7 separate regions of the Homo sapiens genome follow, and all the other regions are linked to region 4. The links are contacts of gene promoters, found by promoter capture Hi-C in blood cells and fetal thymus (Javierre and others, 2016). All regions are on one chromosome and are shown on one strand. Each heading gives the region's core, a stretch centred on a gene start or on the middle of the fragment in contact. The rest is flanking DNA. Distances are from core to core; before and after follow the strand shown.

Evidence for each region. The method cuts DNA at HindIII sites, captures the fragments that hold promoters and counts their contacts. A CHiCAGO score of 5 or more calls a contact.
Region 1: a contact is called between a fragment that was not itself captured here and the fragment with the promoter of FNIP2 in region 4, in 1 of 17 cell types (M1 macrophages). The highest score is 5.9, in M1 macrophages.
Region 2: a fragment that was not itself captured here is called in contact with the fragment with the promoter of FNIP2 in region 4 in 1 of 17 cell types (endothelial precursors); the score reaches 8.0 in endothelial precursors.
Region 3: a fragment that was not itself captured here is called in contact with the fragment with the promoter of FNIP2 in region 4 in 1 of 17 cell types (endothelial precursors); the score reaches 9.3 in endothelial precursors.
Region 5: a contact is called between a fragment that was not itself captured here and the fragment with the promoter of FNIP2 in region 4, in 2 of 17 cell types (erythroblasts and endothelial precursors). The highest score is 8.9, in erythroblasts.
Region 6: a contact is called between a fragment that was not itself captured here and the fragment with the promoter of FNIP2 in region 4, in 1 of 17 cell types (M2 macrophages). The highest score is 6.6, in M2 macrophages.
Region 7: a contact is called between a fragment that was not itself captured here and the fragment with the promoter of FNIP2 in region 4, in 1 of 17 cell types (M0 macrophages). The highest score is 5.9, in M0 macrophages.

What each region holds. Positions count from the first base shown.
Region 1 is chr4:158,005,654-158,008,640 of GRCh38, reverse strand. All of the region lies in intron 1 of LOC105377509 (a long non-coding RNA gene), which reads left to right. Among named protein-coding and RNA genes, the nearest start is that of GASK1B-AS1, 160 kb to the left of the region's middle. The HindIII fragment of the contact is 1,968 bases long and covers 641-2,608 here.
Region 2 is chr4:159,365,705-159,368,929 of GRCh38, reverse strand. No RefSeq gene overlaps it. Among named protein-coding and RNA genes, the nearest start is that of MIR3688-1, 240 kb to the right of the region's middle. The HindIII fragment of the contact is 546 bases long and covers 1,217-1,762 here.
Region 3 is chr4:159,383,385-159,386,634 of GRCh38, reverse strand. No RefSeq gene overlaps it. Among named protein-coding and RNA genes, the nearest start is that of MIR3688-1, 260 kb to the right of the region's middle. RefSeq lists enhancers at 2,385-2,958, 2,959-3,250. The HindIII fragment of the contact is 1,455 bases long and covers 847-2,301 here.
Region 4 is chr4:158,767,508-158,770,576 of GRCh38, reverse strand. It overlaps FNIP2 (folliculin interacting protein 2), which reads right to left and starts at 1,551. Exons shown (of 17, transcript NM_020840.3): 1 at 1,258-1,551. The coding sequence starts at 1,364. RefSeq lists an enhancer at 906-1,643 and a silencer at 1,601-1,810. The HindIII fragment of the contact is 6,862 bases long and covers 1-3,069 here.
Region 5 is chr4:159,417,946-159,420,842 of GRCh38, reverse strand. No RefSeq gene overlaps it. Among named protein-coding and RNA genes, the nearest start is that of MIR3688-1, 290 kb to the right of the region's middle. The HindIII fragment of the contact is 2,133 bases long and covers 331-2,463 here.
Region 6 is chr4:158,205,853-158,209,022 of GRCh38, reverse strand. No RefSeq gene overlaps it. Among named protein-coding and RNA genes, the nearest start is that of TMEM144, 3.0 kb to the left of the region's middle. The HindIII fragment of the contact is 3,243 bases long and covers 1-3,170 here.
Region 7 is chr4:158,158,691-158,161,837 of GRCh38, reverse strand. All of the region lies in intron 2 of GASK1B (golgi associated kinase 1B), which reads left to right. Among named protein-coding and RNA genes, the nearest start is that of GASK1B-AS1, 10 kb to the left of the region's middle. The HindIII fragment of the contact is 1,295 bases long and covers 820-2,114 here.

The sequences.
Region 1 (2,987 bases), core at 375-2,874, 760 kb after region 4:
TCAGTGACCTTTTCTCCCAATCTAAAAATTTAACTTAAGAGAATATATTATGTGTAAACTTGGGGCAATAAGGGCAAAACAAAACAGCAGCAAAAACAAGGCAATAGCATTTGCTAATCTTTACCTGACAGCTGAAATAGATAGCATTTGTAAAGATGCGGCTCAAAGAAAGTACTCACAATTGATAATTACTGTTGTTGTTGATGTTTAGTTGCGGATCTGTTATGAGTGCCATTTATTTGTCACTAGGCTTTTGTTTATGTGCAATTCATTTTCTCTAATATATTCATAACAAATTTATACAAAAAGTATCAATTTCCCATTTTGTATTCAATGGAATTGAAGTTGAGAAAAATTAAATTAACTGAATAAAGTCACATAGACAGGAAGTCAGAAATCAAATGCAGACTAGTATATGTCCAGGTTCTTTCTTTTACATGGCATTGCAAATATTTAACATACAAAGTGTGAGGTTCTAACCTATACAAATATAGAAAATGGAGGAGCAAATGGATGGCAACTAAAGTAGGAATACACTAAAGATCTATTTTCTATTAATCCACACTTTTCCTTATTTTGACATTGTTTCTATCCCAAGCACAAGTAAGTGTTTCCATTTGGATGCTAATAGGTGCAAGCTTCCCAGCTTCACTTTTAAGACTTGTTAAAAGAAAAACTTTAGTTGAATTAAATTTAAGAGAGTTTAATAGAGCAAAGAACTATTCGTGAATCATGAATCAGCAGCCTCCTGAGCCAGAGTAGGCTCCATGACTTCAGCACAGCCACGGATGTAGGGACAGAAAAAGCAAAGTGATGTACAGAAAACATAAGTGAGGTGCAGAAACAGCTAGGTTGGTTACAGCTTGGTGTTTGCCTTATTTGAACAGGGTTTGAACAGTTGGCCACATCTGATTGGCCAAAACTTGGTGATTGGCCTAAGAGTAGGTTACAACTCCATTTAGTTTATAGTTCAGGATGTACAGAGAAACATTTAGGGTGAACTTAAAATATGTAAGGAGATGGCCTTAGGCTAAACATAATTGAACCGACTTAAGAGATTTGAATTGTTCCCATAAATTGTGGGAAACATCAATAATTTAAAGATGATCACTTATATCATCTTTCATCAAACTATAATGCTGTATTCAAAAAGCAAGAAACCACTGAGAAGAGAAAAACAACAGGTTTACAAGTTATTAATAGCCTAAGTCACAGCTTTGGAAGACAATTAACATTTTTAAAGACAATTATAAAACTTATGAACATGGTTTCCATAGTAACCACTGTTTGCTATTTAATTAGGATATTCTTAAAATTCTGTTATAAAATAAAACACTTCCAGCAATTGTCAAGATATAAAAAGGTTCATGCTGTGTTATGCATGGTAAGGGTTTTCCAGAATTAATAAGGAAGTGTGAACTTGTTGGTTTGTTGTTCTGCTACAGCTGAGGGAAAATGCTGTAATACAATGAGTAGGCACTTAGCCAGGAGGCCATTTCCTAATAAAAACAGTTAGCATTGTGCCATAAGCATAAGAAAAACAGCTTATAAAACACCATATGAAACTTGAACTCAAGGAAAAAGAGGATATGATTTTTTGTAACATCCTAACTTAAAAATAAATGTTCTCTCTTTTGGCCACCAGTATAATACTTAAAATAGTTTGATAATTATTTCTACAGTTGTGTCACTTTTTCTTTTGAGCATTAAAGTAGGTGGCACATCATCCAAAGTCAGGCATTTAAAACATGCACCTTAAAAATAGTTTGTTGTCCGCCTTAAAATACTCTTGTTTATGAGCCTTCAGCAAAGTGTTATTTTTAGCCAACTGAAGTACTGATATAGGAGTAAATGAAAAGAAAAAAAGAAATTCTGGTGGAACTCAACAGAGACAAAGCACACAAAATTTGAATATATTTAGGCCGTAACACTCCAGTTTCTACTCTGTGTGAAAATATTACAAATAAGCATAGTTATTCAAGAATTATAACTTTCTTGCTTAGAAAAGAAGTAGTATACTTAAAGATTTTCAAAAGGACCACACATTTTGGAAATAACAGTATAACTGCTATTGCCAATGCCTTGTTACAAATTATTCTAAATCCTGTATAGTAATTTTCTGCTTAAAGCCAAAATAACAAATACAGTGTGAAAAACAAAACCCCATCGCTGATTGACGAAACCTCTGTATCATATGTGAGAGACATACACAGCAGATCACATGTTTTTGTTGTAGTCTTAGAAATGATGATGACTTTGGAAACATATGAATCTGTTTAGAAGTTTGGAGAGGTCTTTACAAAGGAAGAAAACAGATAGCTGAGCTTTAGTGGGTAAATAGAAGTTTTCCAGGGAGGGAAGAGAAATAAACATCCAGTCAGAAGCCTAATAAGAACCAAGTCTCTAAAAGGTGAAAATATTGGTTATGCTTGGTGTGGCTATGGTATAAAATTGTGCAAGGGGGAGGGAGAAATAAATTCAGAAAGTTAGTTGGGATTTTATTTTCCTGTTCAAAGTGAATGCAAATTCAATCTCAAGCGTGTCTAACTAAAAAGATAATTAATTAGCTTATGTTACTGAAAAATCCAGAGTTAGATAAATGTAAGCTTTCAGTCTCTCAATTCAGGGTCTGATGCAATTAGTAAGACTCAGTTTCTTTCTCTTCATCGTTGAGCTCTGCTTCCCCTCTGTTGGGTTCATATTCAGCTACAGACTCTCCTCATCATAAAATGGGCCTTTGCCTTGTATCCTGAACCAGGTCCCTTCCATGTTTGACCTGTAATTTCTTCTCATTGAATCAGTTTGGTCACTTGCCCATTCCTGATCCAATGCTGCTCTGCACCATTTGGCCAGGTGTATGGTGCTACTTTACCATTGAAGTTGAGAATAGAGCTACATTTGAATAATATAGGGGGCATGGGTCCTGGCAAATTAAAAAAAAAAACTATAATCCATCCCTTAGGCTAGCAAAAGTACAAACAGAACCT
Region 2 (3,225 bases), core at 240-2,739, 600 kb before region 4:
GTGGGAGCCCTGAGGCTGTTTTCCTGCAACTAGACGGTCCCATCTGGGGGTGATTGGAGGCAGTGACCGATCATCAGGCATTAGATTCTCATGAGGAGCACGCAACCTAGATCCCTCCCATGCACCGTTCACAATAGGGTTCGTGCTTCTATGAGAATCTAATGCCGCTGCTGGTCTGACAGGAGACGGAGCTTGAGCGGTAATGCCAGCGATGGGGATCAGCTGTAAATACAGATGAGCTTCCCTTGCTTACCCACCCTTCAGCCCCTGCCTGTGGCCCCGTACCAGTCTGTGGCCCAGGGGTTGGGGACCCTGCCCTAGGGTTCACACATTCCAAAGAGGTGATTTGGAGACTCCACTTTAGTAATAGAAGGAAGCCCTCCTGCATGCCAGCCTGACCAGGACCAGGCTACAGGAATTGCTCATCTAGGGGAATTTATTGGGTGCATGGCCACAGCAGGAGATGCCACAGGGCTAAGCTGTGGTGAAAGCGAGTTTGCCTCAGAGCACTTTTCTCACAGTTGAAAACTGGCTTTATCCTCACCAGGAAAAAAAAAAAAAAGGTCAAAACTCATGCAGACTTTCTGTCACATTTTTTAAAAAAGCATGGAAGCCCATCTCCTCTCTTGAGAACTTCTGGATGGGGATTCCCATACAGCTTCATATACACACATGTCACAGGAAAGGTAAGCAGGACCAAACAACTGGAATCCTTCACATTCTTATATCTGAAAGAGTTCTCAGAAGAGAAATAATCTCTTCTCAGGAGATGGACAGTTTATTTTCAGAGATAAAAGTTTGTTGCTATGTAGAAATAAGCCAGGGAAAATGGTTTGGAATATCTTTAAAAGGGTTAGAATATTTTCCAAATGCCTTCTGATTTCTTGACATCAGAAATGTTTAAATATTTTTTTTAGTTGTAAAACTGCACTCACTGTGTGCATTTACTGTTCCCTTTTTTGCTTTGAATCTTTGTCTTCTTACCCTCTCCCCACTATATTTACATACAAACTTCCTCGCCTGGGACAGAAACAGGCACATCGTCTTCTTCACACTTCTGTGTCACATCAAACAGACTGACTGCTCTTTCTGCACTGCCAAGAACTTCTCAGTAGACAAACCCCAGTCTGACCTAAAAAGTTAATCAATTAATTTTGTAAGATGGTGGTGGCCATTACCTTGAGCAATTGTTTTAAAGCGGGGAAGGGCAAAAGCTTATTTTGTTCTTGGGATGGAAATGAACATTCTCCAAGGCTTTTGTGCAGAGAGTGATAGGATGAGAACTTGAGCAAGAAAAGACACTCATGAGCTTGTCATAAGTTGTAAATGGGGGTTGAAAAAAGCCTAAAGATTTGGCAATAGAGGATTCTGAATAAGCCGGAGAATGGGAATGGATGCATTTTAAAATTTCAACTAGCAGAACCACCCTTCCATGAAGTGTGGAACGTCACAGAAGAATACCAAAAACGGAACTGTTTTTTTAGGGCAGGGTGGGTGGTGATGGTGAGGGCGGTGGGAGAGCAGGGAAAGAAGGAAGGGAGGAGAGAAAAAAACTCTTTTATGGTAGAAATCAACTTACAAATATTGAAGAGCGAATAAAGCACCACAATGGTTAATATGTTTTATTTATTTATATCCCACATTGTTTCAAAAACACATCCAAGGTGTGGGGTTGAAAATCATCTGAAGCTCACTGAAGCACAAATTCCACATTGTGCCTGTCACAACAGGGTGGAGTCTTCCTGTCTGGGTGGACAAAGCTTGATTTAGAGACACAGTGAAGCCGCGCCAGCATTTCAAGGCTGGAGGGTGGTGTTTGCTCTTCAAAGAATCTCCTGCAGGAACGTGTCCTCCAGCAGGGAAGATGTCCTTCATCAATGTGGATTGCAAAGGGGCAACCTCTGGGTGAGACCCAAGGAAGGAAGGAGACCCTCCCTTAAGAGCCATTTATGAAAGATTAGCTCAGAAAGTCAAGGCTTTGAATGCGTAAAGTGGATACATTTGGGTTTCCTTTCTGGGTCTGGAGAAGGAGAAATGAATTTAAAGCATTTATAAGTAGTTTGTCTCTAATAGTGGTATTTATATAAATCCACAGATAAATTGCGTCCTCATGAATTGACTGGGTAAAATGAAATTTCAAATATAGGTTCAAGTTCAGCCATTGCACTCGCTAAGTAGAGATTCTCTGGTTTGGGGGAAGTCTGATGATCGCACACTCTATGAGAGTAAAAAGAAACAGCTATTTAAATATCTTAGGTGCAATCGTATATGACTGACCTTAAAGGACGCTTGAAATCAATGAGGTAAACCACTCTGAGCTCAAACCAGGTAAACTCAGTGCAGCAATCACGGGCAAGATTATGTAGTTAAATCTTTAAGTAATTAAGTAAGAGCATCTGGTACCTACCCCAATCTGAGAATGAAAGGATACAATCTTTTGCTGTTATCAGAAGCCTCCAATTTATGAGTGACATTAACTATTATTAATGGGAAATTCACTTCCCAAAGAGGAGAGTTTTCCTGCCTCAGGAGGGGTCTGCTCCAAACCACAGATATGAACTATTGTGTTGCTTTTTTTTTGCTTTTGAATATTTGCTTATTAATTTATTTCACCATTTAATTGTTTTCTTCTCATCCTTTCCCTTCCCTCCTTTTCCTTGCTATTATTCCACCTCCTTTACCACTATTATTTTCCTGTTTCTTCCCCTATCTATATTTGGTTATTTTTCATTATTTATTTATTTATTTATTTAGAGACAGAGTCTTGCTCTGTTGCCCAGGCTGGAGTGCAGTGGTGCGATCTTGGCTCACTACAACCTCCACCTCCCGGGTTTAAATGATTCTTGTGCCTCAGCCTCCCAAGTAGCTGGGATTACAGGTGCACGCCACCACGCATGGCTAATTTTTGTTATTTTTAGTAGAGATGGGGTTTCACTAGGTTGGCCAGGCTGGTCTGGAATTCCTGACCTCAAGTGATCCTCCTGCCTCAGCCTCCCAAAGTGCTGGGATTAGAGGCATGAACCACTGTGCCCAGCCTCCTTGGTTATATTATGATGGAGCAATAATCTATAGTGAACAACTTCTGCTCCTGCCTCACGGGTCAGTGAGGGGTCTGCCGGGGAGGGGCACAGTGGAATACCAGGTGAGCAGTCTCTCCTCTCCTCAGGAAAGTAAATGGAAGAAAGGACACAAGTACCACAGTTCGCCCATGAGTAGGCTGGTGGT
Region 3 (3,250 bases), core at 325-2,824, 620 kb before region 4:
TGGTTTGCTCAGTATCTTCAATCTGTAGGTCTGGGTAGTTTTCAGCCATTATTTCTTCAATATTTTTTGAGCTCCATCCTCTTACTCTTCTCCTTTTAGAACTCTGATACCAAGAATGTTAAATCTTTATAGTCCCATAATTCCCTGAGGTTTGTTCTTTTTTTTTGTTTGTTTGTTTTTCAATCTTTTTCTCTCTGTTCTTCAGATTGGGTAATTTCTATTGTCCTATCTTCAAGTTCATTATTTCTTTCCTCTGTCCCCTCTATACTGTTTTGAGTCCATTCACTGAATTTTAGCTATTATATTTTTCAGTTCTAAACTTTTCATTTATCTTTTTGTATATCTTTTATTTCTTTGCTGATATAATACTGTCTATTTTTTATTTGTTTCAAGCATGTTTATAATGCTTACTGAAACATATGATGATTTCCTTGAGACCTTTATCAGATAATTCTAACATTGCTGTCGTTTCAGTGTTAGGATCTATTTATTATCTTTTTTTCATTCAGTTTGAGGTCTTCTTTATTCTTGGTATGAGTGATTTTTCTATTAAAACCTAGATATTTGTGTATTATATTGAGGTTTGGGATCTTATTTAAATTTCTTGCAAAGGAAAATGGGAGTGGGGAGTGAGCTGCCTGATTACTGCCAGATGAGGTCAAGTTTCAGGTTCCCACCTGGCTCCCACTGAGACCTGAGGGGAGGGGCTACTCATGACTGTTAGGTGAGAGTGGAAGTCCTGCTTCGCATTCAGCCTCTACTCCTGGCTGGGAGGGGTAGAAGAACCTTATTACTGCTCCCCTCTTGGCCTGACATTATGTTGGAGAAGTGGCTTAGGTGAAAGCTTTGTCTCCAGTAGGTCTCCTTTGAGGCCACCCTAGAAGGAAGGGGCAAAGGCATCTCATTACCACTGGATAGGTGTGGAAATCCATGTGGTATCCACTGACACTGCATGAGAGGGATGAAAGTTCCATCTCCCTACTCAGTTTTCTCTGACACTTGTCCAGTGAGAGAGTGGGAGGTGGAGGCTGGTGCTACTGCCATTACATCCTGGGGACAGTGCAAGTCTGCTTCCTCTTGAGCTTTCACTGGGAGTGGGGCTAACATTTTTTCTGTGGTGTTTGGCTGGAGTGGAGCAGTTATTGTCCAATCTTTGTCTCATATATGTATTTTTATGTGTGTGTGTGTGTGTGTGTGTGTGTGTGTGTGTGTGTACATATATTTTTTTTAAATAGAGATGGTGTCTTGCTATGTTGCCCAGCAGGCTGGTCTTGAACTCCTGAGCTCGAGCTATCCACCCACCTTGGCCTCCCAAAGTTCTGGGATTACAAGCGTGAGCCACTGCGCCCAGCCTGTCTAATCATTATCTGTCTCATTAGCTACCCATCTCTTGTTCTTTCAGCTGGAGAGGGCAGGCTTTTGGTAATTTTTGTTTTGTTTTGTTTTGTTTGGCGTGCATTCATTGGTATTTCGGGGTTACGAGTTTCTTTATCTATGAGTCTGGGATATGTGAGTTAAAAAGAAAACCCAGGGAACACACTGCCTCTGGTCCTGTGGTCTCCAGCCAGTCAGCCTTCTCCACCTTTCAGAGTCATCATATGCTTGTTTAATATGTAAAGTCTAGGGTTTGTAGTTGTACTTTGTGAAAGCAATAGGGAATAGTACATTCATTCAATGGATAAGGCATTGGCCTCCTTAAGGGTTGGGCTTTGGGAATAGTATATTCATTCTATCTTCCAGAAGTGGATTTTTTTTTTTTAAAGAAACTGCAGTAAGCTATTATACACACAAGAGGTCTCTTCTGACATACACTTTTGTTTTTTACTCAAGAAAGGCTAATTTTTAGCATTCTCAAACATAATTCTGAAGGATTAATTTGTCATTTTATTTTAAATTCTTAAATATCCAAATTTTCTTCCTTCTCATCTTGAAAAAAATCAGCTTTATCTCATCATTTTCTCAGGTTTATGTTATTCAATAGGGGAGACTATGAGCCTGACAAAACTGTGACATCATTATTATGTATCCACATTAATCAGTGTATTTTTGACACACTGCATTCATTAAAGTCTTTGAAGGAAACATATCACTGCCTTCAAAGATATTACATTCTAAAAATACAAAGTAAAATGTAAAGTAAGATTTCAGAATTTCGAAATTAGGCCGTTTTAGTTAGGAAGAATAAGTTCTAGTGATCTATTGCATATCAAAGTGGCTACAGTTAACAATAATGTATTGTATATTTTAAAATTGCCAAAAGAGTAGTTTATAAATGTTTGCCCTGCAGAGAAATGATAAGCTTGTGAGGTGATGAATATGTTAATTAGCCTGGTCTGCTCATTCCACAATGCACACATACATTAAGACATCATTGTACCACATAAATATTATGCAATTATTATTGTCAATTTAAAATTAATAATTAAAAATTAAAAAAAAATTGAAATTGGTTTATTCACATATCTTTCACACACAAAGAAGCATTCATTGAAAACCTACATTGTTCCCACATCATGAAGATAAATGCAATTTACAATAAACAATCTTTCCCATTTTAATCAATATTTGTAGCTGGAGTGAGACAAGAGATGTTCTAATTCTTGAATCTCTAAACTTGTGTTTATCAAATGTAAACACAAAAGTGAGTTAAATATTGCAACAGGAAATTGGGGCTATCCTAGTTGATTGTCAGCTCCTACTGAGCAGGCAGTGTTGCCTGCTCATAACCCCTCACCCTCATTCCTTCATCTCCTCTCAGGATAGAATGATCAATCTTTTCAAGTGTCACCACAGAAATTTAAATTGGAACGCTTAGTGCCTTTGGAAATGTAGATTACCATTCCAGTTCAAGTGTAGGTGAAGGTCATAAGCTGCTTCTCTAACTCCACTCTCTATAAGCCTTTGGCCATCTAATAATTTAAAACCAATTTCTTTCCATTCAGATGGAGAGGCATTCCCACGACCTCTAACCAGCAAGCAGGATTTTACTACTAAATCACTTCTGCATTTAAAAATAAAAAATTACCATAACAAAACATGGATGCCATTTCAAGCCAAGCGTTGCTAAATTTTGACCTGGGTGCATTTGGGAGTGAAGACAGTAAGGAAAAAAAAAAAAAAAACTTTCTTCCAACAGAAATCATTTTAGTTGCTTATTATGCAGATTTAGTGGTCACGAGAGCTTAAAAAAAAGGAAAAAGGATCAACAATCTGCATAATGGAAGCTATACCCTGCTGTGAACTCTGAAAG
Region 4 (3,069 bases), core at 302-2,801:
GCGCGCGTGCACACACACACACACGTTTAATTTTCACATGACCACAGTGAGAGACTGTTTTAAATGATGGAATTCAAGAAAAGCAAAATCTAGAACATAAAACTTAATCCAGAATTTATTTCAAAGTTTCACTTGAAACTTTTAAAGGTTTATTATACTGGGTCTAGATCTGTTTAACAGTGAACTGTTTTTGCAAGACATTTTGGCCAAAAAGCACCTAGCATAGTGTCAGAATTGGGAGTTGGTGCTCAATTTTAAAATGTGTTGAAAAATTGTTAAATAAACTTCTCAACATACCTGTGCTCAAAGGCAATATAGGACATTTTAAGGCGTCTTTTAAAAGTTAGCCCTTGAAATCAGAATAGCATAGGGATTTTAAAGACTGGAATCTGTGGTCAAACTGCTTGGGTCAAAACACAGGCTCTACCACTGACAGCTGGATTTTGGGCAAGCCGCCTAAGTTATCTGTGACTTTAAGTTTCCTCACCTGTAAAATGGGAATTATAATAGCACCCACCTCACCGCATTGTCAGAAAAGTAAACGACAGAAATCAACATAAAGCATTTTAGGTAGTAAGCTCTCCATAAATGCTATCAATATTCAAAGGTATGTGTTCGAGAGATCAAATCTATTAAATATACATATCAGCTTTGATCAATTGAAATCTCGGAAATTTCATAATTGCATCTTACTCCCCCTTTCCACACATCATGCGGCATCAACCTTCCACATGATGTGGAAATTACATACTTTCATTCATCCGTTTGAGAGCTTGTCATATATGGCAAGAAAGAAGAAAGATGCCTTTTTCGTGACTGTTGCTCCTTCAGAACTTCAAAACACTGTCACGTACACAATAGGTTGGAGCTGCCCTCAAAATGACAGCTCACAGCTTTGCTGGGCCCGCAGAGGTGCCCAGGCGGCTCTGCCCGGAAGGGGTTCACCCCAATAACCGGAGAATCTCCGGTCGCCACAGCCAAGCACAGCGCACGCCCGGGAACCCCAAGGAACACAAGAGAACTCTGAAATGGGGAAGGACCCTGAGTTGTGGAGAAAGAGCGGGAGGAAGGGTCACGGAGGGTCCGGAGCCACACTCGGATCAGGCGCGTCCACGCTGACAAGCCCGGGACCAGGTGCCGGCGATAGGCAGCGCCGTCCTGGACAGTCCCTTCCCTTTCCCCTACCCGTCCCCTCCCCGGCGAGCACCGAAGCCAACTCGGGTCCCGCGCCAGAATTGCCCCCCGGCGCCCCCTCACCTAAAGGCGGGTCCTTCCTTAGGAGCCCTGCCCTGGGCAGACGCCGCCGCGGAGCTGCCGCTGCTGCCCCTTTTGTTGAAGAGCTTCTGGAGCAGGGTCGGGGCCATGATGCCGCCGCCGCAGCTCCGGCCGTGGCGCTCGGGGGGCCGGCGGCTCAGCGCGCAGCCGGGGGCGGCGGCCGCGGTGGCGGGGCCATCGCGGCGGCGCGGCCGCCCAGCCTTGCGGGAGCGCGGGGCCGCTGCGACTGAGTAACTCTGCTCGGCGCCGGAGCCGCCGGCTGCCGGTCATATGACTGAGCCGGCCCGCCACCGCCTCGCGCGCTGACAGTTATCTCCTGCGGGAGGAGCCCGCAGCCCCACGGCGGCGGCGGCGGCGCGGGAGGAGCGCGGCGGCCCCGGCGGCGGCCATTGGCCCGGCGGCCGCCCGCCCCGGGCTCACGTAACCCCGGCGGGAGGCGGGAGGTGGGAGGTGCGGCCAGGAGCGGGCGGGCGGCCCAGTACTCCGGGCACGCGGGGGACGCGGACGGGGGCAGGCGCGGCACTTAAAGGGGCCCGAGGGGCGAGGGCGGCCGCCGGGGCGCAGCTCCGCGAGTGGCGTGGGGTTCCCACGGAGCCTGGGTTCTTTCGCACAGCGAGCATGCAGCTAGGCCGATCTTTGTTCTTTAGAGACAAAGCCCCTGAACTTGGGTCCTCGCTTTGTTCAGGTACAAGAGCCCGTTCACAGAAGGCGTATGCTAGGGGGGAAGGCTTGGTACGCGCGGTGGCCGCTTCGGTGGGCTGTGATTTGAATCACATAGCACCCAAGGTTTTGTCAGGTTTCCTCCATGTCCAAATTCGATTCCTCCAGGCTTTCACAAAATTTAAACTGTTTATCCAAATCATTTGTTCTGTTTGGCGTCTTGGGCCACCATACCATGGTTATATAAGAAGTTGCATTTGAAATATTAAGTCCCCCCTTTAAAACATACACACACACACACACACACACACACACACACACACACAGAACTCACTACATAGATTTAGAAACTTAAGATATTTTATAGCAAGGGATTGTTTTTCCTAATACATATTTAACAGTCAATCAAGGCATATCAGCAGCAGATATTTGGTTTGAGGAAGGGAGGAGTTCATGTGTTTGAGTCCGCTTTCCTGCCCTGTCCCACCCCAGTCCCCTTTGGAATTTAATCCTTGGTGGTGCAGGGCTCTAAACAGCCAGTGTAGGACACGTTACCAGACTCAAAGCAACTTCTTAATCTATGTTTTAGAGCGTTGGGCTTCACGAATTTTTCCGATGATGGGAAATAGAGATAAAGTTAGTAAGACCCCAACCATGCCTCTTCTAGCTTCTCCATGAGTAGTGAACAGTGACTCACCTGGGCTCTCTTACACTTGTTGAGAGGAGGACTCTTGGAGACTCAAAAAGGAAAATATATTTCCAAAAACATAAGTAATCAAAAGAACCTATTCTGGGCCTATTTTACTTTGCATTTTCTTTTTTTAATTGTGTTAGTTTCTGGACTTGGTTGGGAACTAGCTGTGAATAATGTGCTGAAATTTCACAAAGGTAAGAGAAAGGTGGTAGAAATGGAAACTTAGTCATTTGTTTCCTTCGGACTTTTACTGTTAAAATGGTGGATTAAGTGTTTATCCTGATGAGCAATCATCCTTTTGCACAATTGAGTGTACACAGAACCCTAATTTGCAACTTTGCTATTTCTGTTTGCTGAAGGCCTTTACCTCATAGGGCTGCCAGTGTTGGTCAGGATGCTATATAGAAGGTATTGGCTTTATACGTTGTGACTTTCAGATA
Region 5 (2,897 bases), core at 148-2,647, 650 kb before region 4:
GGGCCCCCACAGCGCAGTGGGGGGCTGAAGGGCTCCTCAAGTGGGGCCAGAGTGGACACCGAGGCCAAGGAGGTGCTGAGAGCGAGCGAGGGCTGCTAGCACGTTGTCAGCCCTCATTGCTGTTGTTGCGGTCTTGCCAATGCACTACAATGTTACGGTCTTGTTGTCTGAGGTAGTACCTGGAGTTCTTTGTCTCACGGCCAAGAAAATTAAGGTGCATAGACACAAGGATGAAGTTGGAACGAAAGTTTAATAAACAAAAGAACGCTCTCTGCAGCGGAGAGGGGGCCCAAAAGTGGGTTGCCATTTTTATAGCTGAATCCAAAAGCTTTTGTAAGAAACTCCCCTCATTTCTGCAGCTGTTTGTGTAACTTCCCTTATCTGTGAAGCTGTCTGTGTAACTCCCCTTATCTGTACAGCTGAAAGCACGTCTTTAGGCAGGCACAAAGTGCAGTTTCTCTTGTTTGTGCAATGGTGTGTATGTTTTGAGTAAGAACCCCTGCTCCCCATGCAAGTTCCCCCAGAGCCCACTGTGTACATACCTGAAAAGGGGAGGAAACTTTTTCCTGGGAGCCCACAATTACACTAAGAATGAAGGCTTCTATGTTAGGCCTTGCTTTCTTATCTGTGCAGCTACAGCCTGAGATTTCCCCAGGTGGCTTTATGCGTGCCTGTAGGTTGATTCTTCAGGATGTCTTTCTGTTTAAAAGAATTTTACCAAAGACCAACTTTAGCTGTCTGCCAAACTATTTTCCTTTCCTCCTCCCTCGCTGTGTCACTCAGGCTGGAGTGCAGTGGCACAATCATGGCTCACTGCAGCCTCGACCTCCTGGGCTCAAGCAATACTCCCACCACAGCCTCCTGAGTAGCTGGGACTACCAGTGTGCACCATCACACCAGGCTAATTTTTAAAAATTTTTTATGGAGATGGGGCCTCACTATGTTGCCCAAGCTGGTCTTGAACTCCTGGATTCAAGACAGCCTACTACCTCAGCATCCCAAAGTGCTGAGTTTACAGGTGTGAGTCACCATGCTTGGCCAAAGACATTTTTAATCTGCCCAATTTTCCTGCCCTACTCCACACCACATCCAATATCCAAGGATGGAGCAGAAACAAGATAACCATGATAAAACTCCCACTTTTGTTAAAAGGAAAACTTAAGGCAAATAATTAAATTTAACAGAGTTTAACTGAGCAAAGAATAATTCAGAATAGGTTCAGCACAACTCTGGGGATGCCACATGGTCAGATAATACTTAAGGACAGAAAAAAGAAGGCAAGGTACAGAAACAGTTAGATTGGTTACAGCCTGGCATTTGCTTTATTTGAACATGGTTTAAACAGCTGACCACCTGTGACTGGCCAAAACTGAGATTGGTGTAAGAGTAGATTACAGGCCAGGCACGGTGGCTCACACCTGTAATCCCAGCACTCTGGGAGGCCGAGGCGGGCGGATCACGAGGTCAGGAGATCCAGACCATCCTGGCTAACATGGTGAAACCCCGTCTCTACTAAACATACAAAAAAAAAAAATTAGCCGGGTGTGGTGGCGGGTGTCTGTGGTCCCAGCTACTTGGGAGGCTGAGGCAGGAGAATGGCATGAACCTGGGAGGCGGAGCTTGCAGTGAGCCAAGATCGCGCCACTACACTCCAGCCTGGGCAACAGAGCAAGACTCCATCTCAAAAAAAAAAAAAGAGTAGATTACAGTCTGTTCATGCATTCAGCTGGATTATAGTTCACTATATATGGAGAAAATTTAGGCTGAACTTAAAATATGTAAGGAGGTAGCTGTAGGCAATTTTGAGAGATTGACCAAAACTTTAAGCATTGACTTCACTCTTTCACCATTATAAATCCATTTATTTGGTCTCAAATCCCACTGGGAAATAGAACAGTGGGTTTTGTAAGCTGGGAACAAGGACAAAGAACAATAGGGAAAAAATGGTTGTTTCAGACTACTTTTTGTAAGGAATAGAGCAGAGGGGCCCTCCTTATTATGCTGGAATCTCCTGTTTTAAGAAGACAGAAAAAAAAAAACCTGGTCCATTTTGGGATTTATCTGCTTTTTAAAAGTTTCAGTTTGATCACATAACATTTAGCATGAATGGTTTCATTTTGTTTTGGTCTGTCAGCGCCTAGTGCAAGAAGTCAGTTCAGAACAATGGCTTCCTATCATTTTGTTTAACAATTCAATAAGGGAAAGGTAGGAAATACAGAGAGGTCTCTGGTGCACAGGAGTGATCAAATCCTGCTAGACAGAAAAATCAAAGAATTTACTGTAGCAGTGAAATAGTCTGCTTAGCCCAGTTTGCTACCTGGAAATAACTCTCATGTCCTCTGGGGACCCAGATGTGCATAATAAAAGGTACTTTCTCAACCGTTACTACCAAGGCCAAATTTAAAGTAGATTGGGCAGTATGCCATACTTTGGAACTGGTTTGGGATTCAGCAATAACAAGCTTTTACAAGCTAAGCTTGTTATTTCTTTGGCAATACAATTCCCTTGAAATCTTAGTAGGCTTCTAGTTTTTTTTGTTGTTGTTGTTGGTTTGTTTTTTGTTTTTTTGTGTTTTGTTTTTTGAGACAGAGTCTCACTCTGTCACTCAGGCTGGAGTGCAGTGGTGCGATCTAAGCTCACTGCAACCTCTGACTCCCAGGTTCAAGCAATTCTCCTGCCTCAGCCTCCCAAGTAGCTGGGATTGCAGGAATGTGCCACTCTGCCCAGCACATTTTTTTCTATTTTTAGTAAACATTGGGTTTTGCCATGTTGGCCAGGCTAGTCTTAAACTCCTGGCCACAAATGATCCAACCTCCCCAAGACCTCCCAAAGTGCTGGGATTACAGGCATGAGTCACTTGCCTGACCCTGTTGTATTTCCTATAGTCTGTTTCATGT
Region 6 (3,170 bases), core at 358-2,857, 560 kb after region 4:
TGAGAATTTCTAAAGTCTAAAAGTGAGTTGGGGGCTGAATTAGGCCTGAGAAGATTCATTAGGGATATGCTAGGCCATTGCCTTTTACATTATGCCACAGAGCAAATCCAAACATGCATGACTCTATTCTTAAACTAAAATTTTTCTTTCAAATTGTTTCGTATACATGAATGCCTAAACAGAATGGTCTGTATTGGGAGAGTCCTGGCAGACACTAGAAGATCCAGGTTCTGACTTTAGCTTCGTCTGTTAGCAATATTTCTCATGGAAACTCATTTAATCTCTTTAAACCTTAGTTTTCTTATATGTAAAATGATAATAATAAGACCTGTGCACCTCCCCCTTTTATGTGGTCAAAAGAGATATATATATATATATATATATATATATATATATATATATATATATATATATAACATTATTACTAGGACTTCTGGTTTCTGCTCTGACATTTGAAAGGTGTGAAAGTCTCCACTTCCATCATCACAACAAGAAAAAAATGAGCAAATCAAAAATCAACTACTCTTTTTAGATCTGCAGAGAATTGATGTCATAGGACATGCCACCTCTTTGCAAACTGAAGAAATAGGTGAATACGGAGAATTACAGCTTATCAGGACAGCAAAAGCCACTGGAGCCAGTAAAGGATAGGGGGGCATTTATACAGTATTTGGCCTATTGCTGAAGGCTGAGTGTGGACTAACTTGAGAGTTGAAAACTCAGAGACAGTGGGAGTCATTCATATGGGAGCATCCACACATTAATGAGTTTTACTTTCAGAAGACAGGACAAAAGTTTCCTCTTTTTTCTGGCATGTGGGAGGAAAACAATAACTATTTGAAATATACTCAGAAACAAAAGCCTGTCCTCAAGGTAAACTTTACCCCAGAGCTTTATCTGAATTAGAGAAAAGGCAACTAGACAGTTTGAACACCTTCTACACTTTCTTTCTCACATAAGGAGAAAAACAAAAGAAGAAACCCTTATGAAGTTCACAGCTCAGGGATTCTGGACAACTAGAAAACAGAGTTTTAGATGTTGGCAAAGATACAGAGAAAAGGGAATGCGTATATACTGTTAATGACAATGTAAACTAGTAAAACCCCTACGGAAAACAGTATGGGGATTTCTCAAATAACTGAAAATAGAAGTACCATTTGGCCCAGCAATCCCACTATTGGGTATCTACTTGAAGGAAAAGAAATTGTTATAATCAATGACACTGGCACTCATATATTTATTGGGGTACTATTCACAATTAGGAATCATCCTAAGTGTCCATCAGTAGTTGATTGGATAAAGAAGATGTGGTATATATAAACTATGGAATATTACGCAGCCATAAAAAGGAGTGAAATCATGTCCTTTGCAGCAACATGAATGGAGCTAGAGGCCATTATCCTAAGTGAAATAACTCAGACAGAAAATCAAGTACTGCATGTTCTCACTTATAAGTGGGAGCTAAACAATGGGTACACATGGACATAAAGGTAAAATAATAGATGCTAGGGACTCCAAAACAGGGAAACGTGGGAGAGGAGAGCAGATTGAAAATTATCTATTGGCTGTAATGTTTACTATTTGGGTGATGGGTTTACTAGAAGCCCAAACCTCACCATTACAGAATCTATCCATGTAGGAAACCTGCACATGTGCCTCCTGAATCTAAAATTGTTTAAAAAGAAATAAGAATTTAAAAATAGAGATTTTATCATAACATTATAGAATGTATCAACTCTCCAATATCTTACGACCACATAAATAGTGTTTTGGTATAATAACTGTGGATCACAACTAGAGAGAGTTGCAAGACACAGACTCTGCTTAAAAATGAGTCTCTAGGAAAACCCAAAGACAACAAATAGGGGAGACAAAAAGAAAGATATTAGAGAAAATAGAAGCCTCTGATACTTACAGCTACAACAACCATTAAGCACAGTCTAACTTCTGGCCCAATACACATAAAAACTAAAGGTCTACTTATCTTGTTTTCTATTATCTGATACATCATGCCTCACTTTCAATGAACAATTATAAGGCATGCTAAAAGGCAAGAAAAAACACAGCTCTGAAATGTCAAAGCAAGCCTCAGAACCAGATTCAGATATGGCAGGGATTTGGGAATTATGAGACTGGAAATTTAAAATATGCTATGACTAATATGCTAAGAGATCAACTGGGAAAAGTGCAAGAACGAATAAACAGAAAGATGAAAACTCAAAGAATCAAAAGGAAATGTTAGAGAACAAAAAATACTACAATAGAAAAGAGAATCACTTTTGATAGCTGCAAAAGAATCAGTGAGCTTGAAGGTATGTCAGTTGAAACTTCCCAAACTTAAATGGAAACAGAAAACAGAATAGGAAAAAGAAACACAATTTCCAAGAACTGTATGAAAATTACAAAAGGCATAAAATACAGGTAATAGCAATACCAGAAGGAAAAGAAAGAAAGCAGCAGAAGATACATAAATAATAGTTATCTAGGTATCTAATAATGGTGGACAACTTTCTAAAATTAATAACAGACATCAAACCACAGATCCAGGAAGATCAGATAACACCAAGCAAGATAAATTTTAAAAAAACTACATGTAGGCATATTGTATACAAATTGTGGAAAATAAAGAGAAAATATTGAAAGGAGTCAGAGGAAAAACTATCACCTTACTTATAAGGAACAAGGATGAGAATTAATCAGACTTCTCAGACACCATGCAAGGAAAAAGAGAGTAGAGTGAAATATTTAGAGTGTTGAAAGAAAAATCCACCAACCTATAATTTGTTTCTTATTCTTAATTGATCGCATAGATAACTTCAAAATAATAATATCAGTAATATATTGGGTGATATTAGTTTATGAATAAATGAAATAAATGACAGCAATGCTTTAAGGAACAGGAGAGAGGCACTGGGAATAATCTTTTATACAGTACCTGCACTACCTGTGAAATGGTATAGTGTTATTGAAAAGTGGACTTAGTTGTAAATGTGTACTGCAAACTCTAGGACAATTTCTAAAAACATATTTTTAAGTATAATTGATATGCTAAGAGAGGAGAGAAAATAGAATCATATAAAATGCTCAATTAAAACTAGAAAAGGGAGCAAAAGAGGTATATTAGTCTATTTGCAGACTACTATAAAGATACTACCTGAGGCTGGGTAATT
Region 7 (3,147 bases), core at 218-2,717, 610 kb after region 4:
ATCACTGAGGTCAGGAATTCGTGGCTCCTTTAACTGGATTAACAAAGGCTAAATCGCCCAGGACTGAGTCACCCTGATGTGACCAAGATTTCATCTGCAAAATGTGATTGTAGAGTCTGGCACAGTGACCACATCATCACCACCCTCTGAAGTCAAATTTGATTCCTGTTTTTTAAAGTGGAATATTGAGACAGGAAGAGTCTTGGAGTTTCCATTTATACAGCAGAAGTTCAGGGCAGACCTAGAAAGCAGAAGTTCCTGCCCATTTGTCAGAACAAAGAAGAATGCCTTGTTTTCAGAGGAGAACTGGCGATTTAAGTTGTTTAGGTAGTTGGTGATGAATGAAGTCACAAGACATTCTCCTTTCCTGCTTCCTTGACTTCACACTTAGCTAACTCCTGAGGAAGTATGGAGATTATTTTAACTCAGTTAGGCCTAGAGAAAACAAACTATGAAGTGAAAAACAGTTAGATAAATAAATATATGAAACATATTTGGAATCACGCAGAGACCTGTTTCTTTTTTATTATTTAATTTAATTTTAAGTTGAAAAATAATATTTGTATATGTTTATGGGCACAATGTGATTATTTGATATATGTTTACAATGTGGAATTATTAAATTAGGCTAATTTAAAAATCCATCACCTTACTTATTTTTTTAAATTTAAATTTTAACTAATTTATTTTTTAGGCTTCTTCAAATCATAGGATGATTTTTTTTGGGTGAAACATTGTAAATATATTCTTTTAGTAATTTTGATATATACGTTATATTATTATTATAGTCACCATTCTGTGCAATAGATCACTAAAGCTTATCCCTCCTGTCTAACCGAAACTTTGTACCTGTTGATCAACACTTTTCCCATCTAACCCCCTCTCCCAGCCTCTGGTAGCCACCATTCTACTCTCTACTTTTGAGCTCAACTTTTTTAGATTCCACATATAAGAGAGGTCATGCAGTATTTGTCTTTCTGTGCCTGTATTATTTTGCTTAAAATAGTGTCATCCAGTTTCATCCATGTTGTCACAAATGACAGGATTTCTCCCTTTTTAAAGGGTGAATAATAGTACTCCATTATGTTTACGTAACAAAACACATTTTTCTTATCCATTTTCTGATGATGGACACCTAGGTTGCTTCCATATCTTAGCTATTATAAGTAGTGCTGCAGTGAACATGGGAGTGCAGACATCTCTTCGGCATACTGATTTCAATTCCTTTGGATAGATACCCAGAATTAGGATTACTGGATAGTATGGTAATTCTATTTTTAGTTTCCTGAGAAACTTTCATACTGTTTCCCATCATGGCTGTATTAATGCATATTCCAACCAGCAGTGCTAAGGGTTCCCTTTTCTCCAAACCCTCACCAACACTTGTAATCTTTTTGTCTTTTTGATCATAGCCCTTCTAACAGGGGTGAAGTCATATCTTATTGTGGTTTTAATTTGCTCCAGGACAAGTCCCTAGATTCAGGACTTGTTTGGCCATATAAAATCTATGCCTATGTAATCTACAGACTCCTACCTCCCCACCTACTGTTTTTAAAAATCATGAAAACCTTATGGAGGTTTATTTCTTTTCGCATTAAAGTTTTCCTTCAATGCGTTGTTGACAGTTGTGATGGGGCCCAACAGAATTTGTTTCCTATAACAAAGATGCCACTCAAGTTTGACTGGCTTTTGTTTTCTTCAATGGGTATTATAGAGTTGTTTTTAATGAAGGACTGGAGCTGGACTGTCACTTGCTTTTTATCTTGTTCACAAGGAGTCTTGGAACATGGCCCGTGCAAGAGAAAGAACTTTTGATTTCAGAGCTCAAGACTTTTCTTCTTATTTTTGCTCAGTGACAAATGCTCACAGACATTCATAGCTCCACCCAACATGCTTAGCATTCACCTATAATTCCACAAAACCGCTCAGCCAGTGCTCAAAGTGAAGGGCATTTAATAAATCTAGACAAAGAAGATTGTGTAAAGCACTCATTCTAAGTGAATTTTCATGTTCATCTTCTCAGAAGAATGTCTTCTTTGTGCTTTTGAATAAAAAACGACTTGGGAGAGCACCAAATTCAGCGGAAATATTCAGATTTCAGAAAAAAAGAAGCTTTCCTGGCAAGTCTCATTTTTTAGGACAGCTATATAACCTTTAATTCACATGAACACCCACATATCTTTTAAAACCCGCTTTCTCACCACTGTGACAGAATTTTATCTCTTCACTTGTTGAGATTTCTCTAGAGAGTCCAGTACTGCATCATTTTGACAAACCTGAATGTGGAGAGATGAATGCTTCTCATCTCTGAAACACTTCAGGGTAAGTTGCTTTAACCAGTTTCCTGTTTTCAGAGGCAATTTTTCTGTCATCTCTTCAAATCCATCCAGGTTCATTTAATTCTTTCAAAAGCCTTATATTAAAAGAGGTGGAATTCTCCTCAACAGTAGTACTCATTGCTCTGAGATCTGGAGTTATGCTGACTGCTATTATTACCTGCAAGGGCCACACACACGTATATGTAGCAAGAAGGCCTGTATGTGGAAAGGAACCACAGCCATCTGTGACTCAGTCTGTCTTACTGCTCACCATGCTTTCTTCTTGTTCTCTGGAAATCCCCTTTCCTGAGGTGCACTGATTTCTAGCAGGGCAGGAAAGAATGTCTTTATGCGATAGTTGGCATTCAAAATATTTTGCTGAGGGGAAATGGATGAATTGGGAGAAAAACATAGGCTATTAATTGAAAACCAATTATACTTATCAGCTGAACACTTTATTTGGCAGTTTGAGGACACCTTTTTAATGATTAGTATAGAAAATGTATCATTCCAAAAATTTGGTGATCTAAAATAGAGAAATGGTGACTGACATACAGCATACCCATAAACTAAATTAGGGGTTAATGTATAGCCTGTAGGCCAAAAATGGCCCACTGCCCATTTTTATTTTGTGAACTAAAAATAGTCTCTATAATTTTAAATGATTGACAAAAATCAAAAGATTAGTGATATTGCTATAACCCTTGAGACTCATATGAAATTTAAGTTTCACCATACACAATAAAATGTTAATGGAATAGTTACAACCACTTGTTTATATATTGTCCATGACTGCTTTTGGGCTACACTGGAGTTGAACGGTTGCATA